2 separate regions of the Homo sapiens genome follow, and region 1 is linked to region 2. The links are contacts of gene promoters, found by promoter capture Hi-C in human tissues and cell types (Jung and others, 2019). All regions are on one chromosome and are shown on one strand. Each heading gives the region's core, a stretch centred on a gene start or on the middle of the fragment in contact. The rest is flanking DNA. Distances are from core to core; before and after follow the strand shown.

Region 1 (6,502 bases), core at 849-3,348, 210 kb before region 2:
AGGAATGCACAGCAAGCCTGGATAAACCTTTTCTTCCCAATTCTTTAGGCTGCAGTTCCTTCATCTATGAAGTGAAAATCTTGCTCACTATATCTGAGGACCCAAAGTGTTCTAAATCTCATTAGACCTACAACAAGGGAAACCATTTTCTGCTGCTGCATATACTAGGCAGAAGCTAAGTAAACAGCATATAGCAGAAGAGACTCTCTACCATGGAAATTGTTAAACTCAACCCAAAAGGCACTTTCTTACTTAAAGGTTACTCAAACCGGGCACGGTGGTTCACACCTGTAATCCCAGCACTTTGGGAGGCCGAGGCGGGCAGATCACCTGAGGTCAGGAATTCGAGACAAGCCTGGCCGACATAGTGAAACCCTATTTGTACTAATGAAACAAAAATTAGCTGGGCATCATGGCGGGCACCTATAAGCCCACCTACTCAGGAGGCTGAGGCAGGAGAATCACTTGAACCCTGGAAGCAGAGGTTGCAGTGAGCCAAGATCATGCCATTGTACTCCATCCTGGGCGACAAGAGTGAAACTCCATCTGAAAACAAACAAACAAACAAACAAAAAAGTTACTCAGCAAGCAGGTTAATGAAAAGAGTATAAACTCTGGAATCAGAAGCCTGAGTACAAGCCTCAGCTCAAGAATTTAAAGACTGCAGGTCTTTGAGGAAGTTGCCCAAACTGACCAAGCTTCTGTTTCCTCACCTGTTAGAGGAGAATCATGATATTTATCTCCTGAGTTCTGGCAAGTTTTAAAGGAGATGATGCACGTCAATGCCAAGCTCCATGACTGGCATAAAATCATTGGTAGTGATGAAGTCATTTATCCATTTATGCCACTGTATGCAATGTCCACAGTGTACAAAAATTGAATAAAATGATGGAGTTAGGCATACCCTTGAGAGCAGCGCAGATGGAGTAGGAGTTAGGCATACCCTTGAGAGCAGCGCAGATAGACCATTAGCCACTCATGTCTCCCATTCCCACCATCTAGCGCCAACCCATTCAGACAACACAGCATTCAGAACAAACATCCTGAGCCACAGATCTGAACCACTCTGTTGCTTAAAACTGTGCAATAGCTCTCAATCTCCTTAAAGATAAATCCTAACCTCTTCATTCCATGTATAAGGCTCTGAGTGATCATTTTCCTTTCCCAACCACCATGATTAGTAAAGGTAGACTAAGCACTAGAATGAATAATCCCCAAATTTTATCAGCATAACACAATAAAAGTGTGTCCACTGAGAGAGGGGTGATTGCCTGGGGCAATAATTCAGAGACCTTGTTTTCTTTGGTCTTCTGGGTCCTTTGGGTTCTGAGTTCTCTTTGTCTGCCAGAATATGGGGAGAAAGGAAAAGGATCAGTTATTGAAGGGTTGATGAGCCAGACTTGGTAGATGGGCATATAATTTCCTGTCCTATTCTATCATCCAGAAATGAAATCAGAATACTGCTTCACCTAATTACAAAGGAGGCAAAAAAAATAGATACTGATTAGCATTCTATTACCTTTCAGTTGACACTAGAGCAATTCTAGGCTCCTTCTATTTATCTGCCACACCATTCTCGTCCACCTCTCTCTGTGTTTTTGCCCCTGCTGGTCTCGTTGTCAATCATGTTTTAGATAAACTTCTTCTATGCTGAAGTTCTTGTCCAAGGATGATCTTCTCTTCAAGTCTTCCTTTACAAAGCCCCTTCCTTACTCAGAGAAAGACCTAATTGCTCATTCCTCCTTAGTACATCTAGACTTTGTACTAAGCCCTCTTTAGTACTTCTAGACACTCTGTCACTCTGCTCTGATGATTTTGTTCATACACTTGTCTCCCCTCTAGAATTTAGGCTCCTTCTCTGCAATTAGCAGAGACCTGTGCTAATTGAATCACAGCTGTCCCTTCTCCTCCCCCTCTCCTCACCCCATACAGCACATACCCTGGTGCTGAGTGAGCTGCATGGTGGGGAACTGCAATAACATCCAATGTCCCCAGAGAAATAGAGCTGAGTATTAGGAGCTAAGTTTAAGACAAACCACCTGGTTTTGAAGCCCAATGCTGCTGCATAATCTTGATCAAGTTGTTTGTTCTGATTCTCAGAAAAAAGAATGTCTATAAAACCAGAAGATTATTAGCTTCCCATATCAGATGGTTGTGAAGAGTTTATTAATTAATGAATATAAAGCTCTCAACATGGTACTTGCTACACACAAGGAACGCTAAATAAAATTCTACCTATCGCTATTATCATATCCTTCTGACCTATTTTGTGGATGGAAACAGAAAGGCTCTCCCCTGACTTTGAGAAGCCTTAAATTAGGACAGAGAAACTTGCCCTGTGGATATGTGGTCCCCAGAGAGTGACTCAGGCAGACTGAGGCCTTTGTGAGCTCCCATGGCCCTGGAAGCATTCCTTGAGTGAGGTCTGGCAAGGACAGGGAGAAGCTGACAACTTAAATGATTTAGTCTGCTCAGCAAAGTAAACGTGGCTCCAGGAAGTTAGAAGTAACTCAGAATGGAAGCTCCAAATGCCACTGGGTGGAGGAAATTTTTTTTTTTTTTCCAAACTCAATTTGTTTTCACTTAAACTGCTCCATTTCATCAACATGGCTCTTTGGAACATTGGCTAAATTCCCTAAAAATGTCTCTCTTTTTAAACGTTTTCCTCCCTCCTTCCTAGTTCCTCAAATGCAATAAAATTAAATACTTGGAACCCAAGAGAAAGCCCCCCAAAACATCAGATCAGCATAGGTGTCCATCAGGTATGTGTTTGCAAATTGATGGCAAAGTTGGGGCTATAGGTGTGGATGTAAAGTTGCTGTGAACAGCACAGTGACCACAGTTAAATCATTCCCTGAAATGGCCCTGCAGTTGATAAATTGCCTTCTCTTCACAAAGACCCTTTTATCCAGGTCAGTCCTGTGTGAGGCTTTCCATGCCTCCCCATTTAAGCCTCAGGAGGAAGGAAATAGACCTTCATCTATAGAGGAACAGAAGGTTTCTCAATCAAGAATCCAGGTTGCAACCCATTCTGCACTTACACATCTGGGAGATAGACACCCACTCCATTGCCGCACCAACATGACCGAGACAGGGGCCCAAAGCCAGAACATGCTGAGGGAGTTTCTTTCTTTATTGCCTGGAATGTCTTTTAAAATATAACAATAAACAAGAGAATCCTGCTTGTACTAGCTCATGAAAAGTTTTGACATAACCTAACCCTTTCAGTCCATAACCAACTCATACCAGACCAGCTCTGATTCTTTTTGAGTATGAACCATCCCAGTTTTAAAGCCATAGTTTTCTCTTCTGCAGAGGAAATCTATGTCAACAGTAAAAGACTACAGAAAGGATATCTTCCATTTGTTTTTCTGCTTCTTCACCTTTTCTTTTGTTTTTGTAAGAACTTGGCAGAGCTGATAAATTAAGCAGATTTTTCCATACAAGGGACACAAGGATTCATTGTAAACTACACGCAGGAGTTAACAGGACTATAGTAGCCTAGTTTAGGAAGATAATTTCACTTAATTTCATCACTGAATTGTTGAGCATTTACTATCTATGGATATAAAAAAAAGTGCAAAAGAATAAGAAAATAGTAACACCACCATTTTGTAGGTATTTTCCAACAACTGGCACTCTGTTGTAACTGTTACACAATCCTTCAAGATCTCCTTGTTCAGAGAAAATATAAGCTCCTAGAAGTTAGATACTTTGCTCAAGGACCTACAGATAGGACCAGGCAAAGCTATCAATCAATCCAGTTTCGGCTTATCAGATCCTAAAGCCCGTTCACACCTATAACTATGAATCTCCTCACCTTACTGTTATTTTTTTTTTGAAAAGACAGTATGATCTGCCTCTTGGGGCTGTTAGAAAGATTAGATGAAATATATTTTATGTGCCTATTATGTGATTGTATATGAAATTCCACCAGTGTAAAGTCTAAAACCTCAGCCATTTGGAGAAGTTCAAAGCAAGAGGGTGAGTGGATGAATCAAGGAGAGGAGCAGACCCTTCTCTGACTTCTCCACCCATCAATATCATCCTACCCTAAACTAGGCACGTAACATGGTTACTCGCTAACATAACACAGAAGGGCTAGTGATAGGTCTTAATTCTCAGACCTCTGGGAAATGACTACTACACAGCTGCTTCTAGTAAATGTTGGTTTATATTTTATCTAGGGTCTCGCTGACCTTTGAGATCTCAGCAAAATTAGCTTCTTATCCTCCCCAACTGTGCAGCCTGTAGACATCTTCTCCAGTACTTTGGCAAATTTTCAGAAAACCCAGCACCTCTTGTCTCTCAATATTTGTTTCTAGATGGGTATCTCTGTTTTAGTCTAGAAGACTTAGCTGGAGAAAAAATTCAACTATTGCTTTGAATTTCTAAAAACTCCACTCACATTTGCAAGAAGAGTGAACTTCACACAATAATGGGGAGAGGAGCTTCAGGGGGAAAAAAAAATCTCTATAGCCACCAACAAAACAACTATCAAAGAGCAGAACAGAACCCGTTTAGAAATCTCCTCCAGACATCTCACTATCAAGATGCTTTACAAACCCTTTATATTGCCCGGTCTCAGTCTCTATTTTGCAGACTTCTTTTCCTCCCTTCTTTTTTCTCATTACTCATCTCTTACCTATTCAAATTCAGGATCAAAAATGATAAACCATGTTCTTATCCCATCAGATGCTGAGACTCGCATCCATGATAGTCTGGCATCTATCAGCATCCATGTCTTGAAGATCTCACTTCAAAAAGATTTATGAAGCTCCACCCCTTTCCATTCTAATGGGGCATGCTAAGATCACTAGATAAATAATAGCAAAGTTGTCTATAGCTCTTAAGCTGCACCAGGCACCGTTTTAAGTACTTTGTATTTATGAATTAATTTAATCCTCACAACAACTCCATGAAGTTATTATTATATCCCCATTTCACAGATGGGAACTGAGGTGCAGAGAGGTTAAACAACTTACTCAAGGTCACATAGATAGTGGCAGACCTGTGATTCAATCCCAAGCAGTCTGATTCATAATTCATACTATTAAGTTCTATATAATCATTTGGCAGAAAAATGAACAGTCAGACATTTCTCCCTCCCAACTCACGACAACATTGAATGAATGCATTTATTTACAAAATAAATGAATGAGTAGAATTTGAAGCAAATCTTTGGGGTTTTGAAAAACATACAAAACGTAAACAACAAAAAGTAGGCCACAGACTATTAGGGATTAAAAAAAATAGGAAGATTTAAATGGGTAATTTCAGGACAGAGGGAGGCCCCGGGGCAGGCAATTGTCAACTGCGTTGAATAGGCTCCAGGCAGTTATATGCAGAGGTTAAGTCAGGTTTAGGGAAATAACTGTGTTTTTAACTGGATAATCTATCTCCCATACCTTCAGGAAAACATCATGGCCACTGAGCCTGGCTGCTTCCTTTGGAAAGGCCTTTGGGGGAAGATAGAGTTTGTAAAGTGATAGGAGAAGAGAGTTCTCAGCTACATGAAGACTCATTTTGCTTCAAAAGAAGGGCCCCTCATCAGAGCAGTAAGTTCAGGAAAGTATCCACTTCCAAGTGGTCTTTGTTTCCTATTTGGACATCACGGCAGTGCATCTACATCTGGACGATGATGTCTCTTACAGGAATACAGCTCTCTCATCAAAATTCGGCAGACTGCATAACCAGGGCTGGGGCATTGTAAAGAGTTCAGGGCCTTACAATTCTCTCCCCCAGCTCCCCTTTCCAAACACTTTGCTCTTGTCAACACAGGAAAAGTTAAATCATTCTGTATTTCCAGACCCATTATTGAAGAAGGTAGAAAAATAACTCTGATGATTAGGTTCTTTGACATTTTACATTGTTTAAAGATCTATCTTGAGAAATAAAGGTCTCATTATCTAAAGAATTTCATCTTTTTCATTTGGCAAACTAGTATACTTTTACCTTCATCATCCAGATTAAGTGAAAGTTTATCTCATTAAGCATAATACTTTATTTTTGGGCTCCAAAATCATCTGTACTCAGAGTTGAAATAGTAGTAACAACAATACCCCTTAATAAACATTTTATAACTACACAATGCTGTCTGACCTATCATAAACTTTTTTTTTTTTTTTTTTTTTTTTTTTGAGATGGAGTCTTGGTCAGTCGCCCAGGCTGGAGTACAGTGGTGCGATCTTGGTTCACTGCAGCCTCCGCCTCCCGGGTTCACGCCATTCTCCTGCCTCAGCCTCCTGAGTAGCTGGGATTACAGGAGCCCACCACTATGCCCAGCTAATTTTTTGTATTGTTAGTAGAGATGGGTTTGCACCGTGTTAGCCAGGATGGTCTCGATCTCCTGACCTCGTGATCCACCCGTCTTGGCTTCCCAAAGTGCTGGGATTACAGGCGTGAGCCACTGCGCCCAGCCATAAACTTTTTTTTTGAACACTTTATTGGAGTTTTAAAACAATCCTGAGGTAAATAATATTATCCTCATTTTGCAGTTGAA
Region 2 (6,923 bases), core at 1,286-3,785:
AAACATCTCTTCCTAGATGGATTTCTTCCATTTAGGAAGCTCCATAGTGAAGTCAGATCAGAAATGGATGATAAATAGATGTGAGGGCATGGAGGTGAGGAGCCTAGGGCATCATCCTAGCATGAACAAAGTTTGGGTATTGTAGAGTACCTGGTGCATATGGACCCATCTACCAGAAACAGAGGCTGCGAACAGTACAGGGATGGAAAACACGTCCTCGTCTGGGCACTCCTTACTCAAATGCCAAAAAGCTTAAGATGCCACATAGCTTTTTGGAGAAAATGCCTTTTACAAGTAGCCTCTCCTAAAAATGCATAAATCATCTCTTCTCTATGTTATCAGAATACACTTATATGATAGTTGTTAACTTAACCCATAATAGTATTCTTGTTTGTCACCTCTGCTAGCCTTTTCCTGCTTTGAGGGCCAGCCTGGTCATATTTGGCTTAGTTTCCCTGTGATTGACCATACCACTTGTGGTAGACACTAATCAACGATTGTAGAATCCTAAAGAACTGGGGAGAGGAGTTCGAGTTTGAGACATTCCCCGAAAAAGCCATATCTATCTAGTTTTCTAGCATGCGCTCTTGTCTTATTTAAAAACTCACATAGAATTATAAATATATTGATTATATGTTCTATACAAATATAGTTTATATACCATATGACATATATTGTACACTATTCTAATATTTTAATCCCTAACCCAAGAGATTAACTCAGTAGGAACCACTCACTGCTGGTTGAGACACAGCTTCATGCTACTGAAATATCCTTTGGCTAAAGCACAGAATTTAAAACTTCCCAAACAACCAACATTTGAATCAGCCAAAATGGATCAAAAGTTCAAATGAGCGGTTTTATGACATGACTATTTATGGGCTTTCTTGCTGTCTGGGAGGGTCACTTTAGCAGAGAATCCTAAAATACTACAGCCAAAGCAACCGTAGGATGACCTAATCGTGTCTTGCTTTTTTTTTCAGATGGGGAAACTGAGGCCCACAGCAACAATAATAACTGTGGGGATGATATCATTTAATATTGAAAATAAGTGGATAATTGAGACCTCCATTATTAGTAGTTAATTTTTAAAAATCAAAGATCTCTCCTAATTAGCTTTATGGAGCAAATAAATATATTTTCCATATTCAAATATGGCTGTGATTTCTACACAAATGGTGTTAACAATCTAATACAGCATAAAACATTGTTTAAATATCATCATACCCTATTCCTAAACAGTAACGTGTAATAGATCTCTGGAGCCCAGTGTTGTAATATAAACACTTCCCAGGTGTATTCCCTTGGTAAAGTTTCATTACTTCTCTAAACGTCAGTTTTCTTGTGTAAAAAAGAGACACTTGTGTCTATCCTACTTACTGGTTACAAGGATATAATAAAAATAGTGAACAAAAATAGTGTTCATAAAGTACCCTGCACAGCACCTGATTATAGACTTAATAAGGGAGGGCTCAATGGTAGTTGCGTTTTGAATTACATTTAATGCTTCATTTTACTTCACTGTCACAAACTACTATGCTCTGCGGCAGGCTCAGAAGTCTCTAGGCACGGGTGAAGTGCTACTTCTCCACTCCCTTAAATGCCCCTGTATGCCCTGAGGATACTCAATGCATGCTAACCACCAAACGAACGGATGACTCAGAGCTTGGAGGAAATCCACGGCAGGCTGGAAAGCAAAGGCGCAGCTTATGGCTCAAGGATTAGGTTGTTACCTTTTTAAATTATTGCTTTTCTTTAAAGAAAGGGCTGTGGGGGACGCCTTTCAGCACTAAGAGAAAACCTCAGAAATCCTTCCCCCTGGAGACCCAGCTGAGAAGACCACACCAGGCACAGGGCATGAACAATGTCAAAAAGCTACTGCCCTGCAGGACACTGGGGCTGGAACAAAGATGCCTCCCAGCAGCTGGGCAAGGCTGGCTCCCACACAAGAAAAGCAGGGCTGATGTGAGCGTCCCGCACGATCCCCACCTGCTGAGACCTAATCCTGGGTTATCTCTCCGCTGGCCCAGAGAAACCTGAAACCCCCCAGGCTTTTGAAGGGCTTTATCTCCTCTTTCCAGGAACTGGGCTCAGTCCCTGTACTCGCTCCGAGGTGCCACTGAGCAGCTGCTGCCCAGAGCCCAGGCGAGCCCTGGTCCCATTTCCAGCTTGACCAAGTACAAGAGGGGAGCCAGGGCTGCGGATCCTACTCCCTCTTGCTCCCCAGGCATCCGTCTCACAATTAGAAAACCCGTGTGGGGAGCAAAGCAAAAATCACATTTCACTAACAGCTACTCGGGGTCGGGGGCGGGCAGGCGGGAATTCCTACTTTCGCCATAAATTGTATGCAAATGGGTTCCTTCCCTGGCCGAGAGCCAGGAGTGAGTGCGTCTTTCATGAGCTAACCCTGTTCCGCTGGGAGGGCTGTTCCTTTAATTCGCCAACTGAAAAAGTGGGAAAGGATGTCTGGAGGCGAGGCGTCCCATTACAGAGGAAGGAGCTCGCTATATAAGCCAGCCAAAGTTGGCTGCACCGGCCACAGCCTGCCTACTGTCACCCGCCTCTCCCGCGCGCAGATACACGCCCCCGCCTCCGTGGGCACAAAGGCAGCGCTGCTGGGGAACTCGGGGGAACGCGCACGTGGGAACCGCCGCAGCTCCACACTCCAGGTACTTCTTCCAAGGACCTAGGTCTCTCGCCCATCGGAAAGGTAAGTCTGTTTTGCCCTCATCACTAGAGATCCTTATGATGTAAGGATTGCATTCCTGGTACCAAATGAGTTGTGATTTTATATTATAATTACAAAACATATGGGGTTTTTTTTTCCACCGCTGGAAAAAAAAGGAGTGTGTATTGGTTATATCAGATGCACCTTGACTTTTCTGGTCTTGTAATTTTGTTTGTTTTAACTTTATGAATAGTCAGACTTGGAAGGAACTTTTCGTAAAGTTGTTATCTTCTGCTGTTCTGCAGAGGAAAAGTAAAAATTTTCTCTTCAACTGCTCTCCTACTTCTAGTCTGGCTGATTCACCTGTATATATCTTTTATTTTGAGGGTTAGGGCAGTAGAGTTTTAAGGCAGACTTTGCTCATAGCCTGCCCCTGGGATGGGTTAGAGGGAGTTTGATAGAGGAGTGCAGGGAGAATATAAAAGTTTATATCTAAACAGCACTTACATAAAGTTTACAAAGAGTTTTGTACCCATTCCCTCATTTGGTCCTCAAAATATTCACCCTGGAAATGAGAGCTGGGGGACAGAAGAGAGGAGGTGGCTCCTGGGCCAGATGAATAACTGACAGGCAGCTAGAGAGTGGTGGAGAACAGCTTTACTGGGGTGCCTAGAGCCAGCAGCGTCCCACATGTCTCTAGAATCACCTCCTCCTCCTCACCTCTCATCACAGAAAGATCTGAGCAACAACATCCCCCAGGTATGGGAACCCTGCTGCCCCTGGTGTACTTTGGAAAGAACACAGGGGTTCTTCTCACCCATCAGTGTTGTAAGAGGAATAAGAGCTTAGGTTTGAAGCCAGAGGTGTTTGGTATTCTCCCCACCACCATACATATGACCCTGAGAAAGATACATCACTTCCTTAATCCTCAGTTTTCACATCTCTAAAATGGGGACAATAGCGTCTGCTGTCGTTTTGAGGAGAAAATGAGGTATAGAAAGATCAGCAATGACTGCTTAATAACTGGAAGTTTGGATAATCATTGTCATTGCCAAAAACTGCCATCACTCTGGAAGTTAAAAGAGGCATTGAGCCAGTCTTGGATTGTTTCTTGTGTGTTGTTCCTCAGCCCGCCCCCAGCCCCCGCTTTTTATCTCACCCAATCTGAGGGTGTCTCACTAGGCTGGCAGGTCTGAGACTTGGCTGTATTTTACAAGCAGGAGGTTGTGTTGGCACAGGTTGGAGAAAAGGTAGTAGCCCGGGGCTGGAAGTTAATGTCAAATTTTGATTCCAGAATGTCAGGAGGTTTTGAGTTTAGGCATCTGCAGATTCTAAAGCTGACAGCTATGAAGTACGATGCTGTTGGAAACTCTTTGGAAAAGCTTTCTGTCCGGAGGGAGGGCAGGACAGGGAGCACCACTTGAAGAATGAATGCCTCTTTTTCATGTTTTTGTAGACTTTTTCCCCCATTTTTACAGAGCTTTCCCATATGTGTTTTAGAAAGGAAAACTACTATCCATCCCAGCCAGGCAAGCCCAATTCAGGACTGAAGAAGATTTATTCAGTCCTAGACAACCAAGTGAAGAGTTTCTGGCTTTGTGCGCATACAAGTCATTTGCAGGAGATGTAAGTCAGCGTGCTTTGGCCCTTGCATTTCAGGAAGGTGACTGCTTTGTGGGGAAGAAAAAGGTGCACAATATGAGTATTCTCTGGTTTGCTCAAACAGGGTAAATTGGACAAGGATTGAAAGGGATGTTGCCAAGCTCTACAGTCATTAAATATTTTTTTCCTCTATGCTTTGTTTTAAAAACCTAGCTTCTCTATTTTATCCCACACTAACCTCCTCCTTCCCCACTCTAAGAAGTGACTAACGTTTCAGCCCTCAACTTTGTCATTCATATAATGGAGATGACAAACTATGTCTCACAGGGCTCTTGCAACATTCAAATGAGGTAATATATGGCAAACACTTGGCATAGTACCTTCCACATATTAAGGGTTCAATAAATGGAAACTTTTCTTAGTTTCTCTGTTTATCATTTTACAAGGACTTGTCCAAGATTAATATTCTAAGATCATGATTTTTAAACTTATTTTTAATGATGAAAATATTCATTACATGAATTTAGGGCAAACCCCCAGTATATGACAGGTAAATGCAGGGCTGCTTTGGTTGAAGTGGGGTCACAAGGTCTAAAACTTACACCTTTGCTCTTAGCCTCTGGGACATTGCCACAGAATCTTCAATGACAAAAAGCACATTTACAAATCATGAAACCAGGCTGTGTGCATTCTGGTTGCCATTCTGCCCTTCAACAAGGATTTTTGCCCCTCTGAGTCACCATCTGTAGCAGAAGTAAGAGCAAGTCCACAAATAGTGTAATAGACAGGAATATGAATGAGAAATAAAAGACTTAACAAAGGCTATTTTAATTAATTCTAATGACAATGATAGCCAAAATATATGATGAGCCTACTCTCTAAACTGTAGGCTTTTGTGGGATCATCCACAGCATGTCTCTGAGGTATGGACTATATTTGTTGGACAAAGAGATGGCTTCAAGAACAGGGAGACTGAATAACTTTACCAAGGTCCTAGAACTCAGAGTGATACAGCCAGGTTTCACACCCAGGTCCCCGTGATCACCAAGTCAGAGGTACATTCTGCCGTGTTCCTTCTGAATGCTTCTCTGCTTCTTGCCTGCCTTTAGAAGGAAAACACTTCCTTTCTGACTAAATATGCCCCTCCAGGCAGACTGTGGCCACCCATAAATACAGCAGTAGCCTGATCATATAACCAGAATGGAATTTGGAAAGAGAATTCAAGCTGACAGAATGAAAAACATATCCCCCTTAATCCTACCCTTTCTAATGCTAACAATAAATTAAGAGCACATATTCTCTCCTCTCTCTCTAGATTTCTATAGACACCTAGCTGTGCTTTCTTACAAGAAAACATATCCACTGGACCAAAGCGCAGCCCCCTTCATGCTGAAGCCACTTCAGTTTGAAACGTAAAAAGTAGGTTGCAAACATTTAGTTGGCTCGAAATATATGTCCTTTTGTGATGGTAAAACACACAAACACAAAGTTAATAGTGTCACATATGTAATAGGAGGGTTTGCCAATGGTTTCTCATCTCATTCTCACTCAGACACTACAAATTATAAATTACTAGCTCAATTTTAAAGAAATCGACACTCAAGGAAGTTAGGTGACTCATCTGAGGTCTTTCCGTAATTGAGGGGCAGAGCTGGCTTTGACCCAAGCTTTCTAACTAATACCCCACTGTTCTTTCTGCTGTGCTATATTGCCTTCTGAAGTCAGGCTGTGCTGACCAAGTTTAGAACCTTAAATGGTGTCTTTCAGTGAATGATCAAGATGGTGGAGAAGCCCCCAGCTGGCATTGGTGCCTATTGATTTTACAGAATAGCCCTGCATGTATCATTTTTCATGGTTCTCAGCAAAGGTCAGCTCTCAATGGTGCAACTCTCTGCCTGGAAACAGGAAAGTTCAAATTTCAGCCCTGGAAGAGAGAAGAATGAAACTAGAGGTAGCAGTCAGGTCACTCCTGCTGATTTTCATCTCAGAAAAGTAGGCACACAGGTGAGCCAAACATCTGGTTTTAAAAGGGCTGATTGGTAGGTAAAGTGAAATCGGCCTTGGGGCCATGAATCCCAGGACAGCTTGGAAATGGTTGTAGGCTCCGAGCCACAAATTGAGCCACAAATTCAGCGGAAGCCTCAGAGAGGAAGATTATGATTCAAATACCTCTCACTCTGAGAAGATTGTAGGGAATCCCCTTGAATCTTATCCCGGGCCAGTTTGAACACCTTCAACATGTGGGAAACATTAGATGAAGGCTCCCTTCCAAGGAGGAAAACCCCCCTCAAAGTGTGACATGACCAGCCTCCTGCAAACCCCAGGCCATAATTCCATTCAATGTAAAAGACAGAGATGGTGAACTTACCTACCTTCGGGGGCTATACATGCTTTGTGACTTCTCTGTAAAGGAGAAAAGTCTGCAAACCAACCTGATTCTAATCCTGGTGGCCAGACATTTTTCAGTTATGCCCTTAAGCCTAAACTCCTTTCCCTCCACCTTGTCTCACATTTCCAGCTTCTCTTCCACTTTAGAAACAACCCTGTCACTATCATTACTCTCTTTGGCCCTTCATCATGGAATAAAAGCAAAATGCCCAAGTCAAAAGCAGATCGCGAACGGAAAATCCCTTCCATGTGCATTTTTAGTCTA

The links. Contacts are between HindIII fragments. The study calls those that stand out against the background at their distance.
Region 1: a fragment that was not itself captured here is called in contact with the fragment with the promoter of TNC in region 2 in 6 of the 25 tissues and cell types used here (adrenal gland, heart left ventricle, mesenchymal stem cells and 3 more).

The regions. Positions count from the first base shown.
Region 1 is chr9:115,324,347-115,330,848 of GRCh38, reverse strand. The region is part of intron 4 of DELEC1 (deleted in esophageal cancer 1); the gene reads right to left. Among named protein-coding and RNA genes, the nearest start is that of DELEC1, 190 kb to the right of the region's middle. The HindIII fragment of the contact is 6,146 bases long and covers 1-5,171 here.
Region 2 is chr9:115,113,769-115,120,691 of GRCh38, reverse strand. It overlaps TNC (tenascin C), which reads left to right and starts at 2,535. Exons shown (of 28, transcript NM_002160.4): 1 at 2,535-2,710. All of the region lies in intron 2 of LOC124902255 (a long non-coding RNA gene), which reads right to left. LOC101928748 (a long non-coding RNA gene) reads left to right here. Exons shown (of 6, transcript NR_110950.1): 6 at 984-1,153. RefSeq lists enhancers at 1,437-2,256, 5,580-6,779. The HindIII fragment of the contact is 7,931 bases long and covers 1-4,994 here.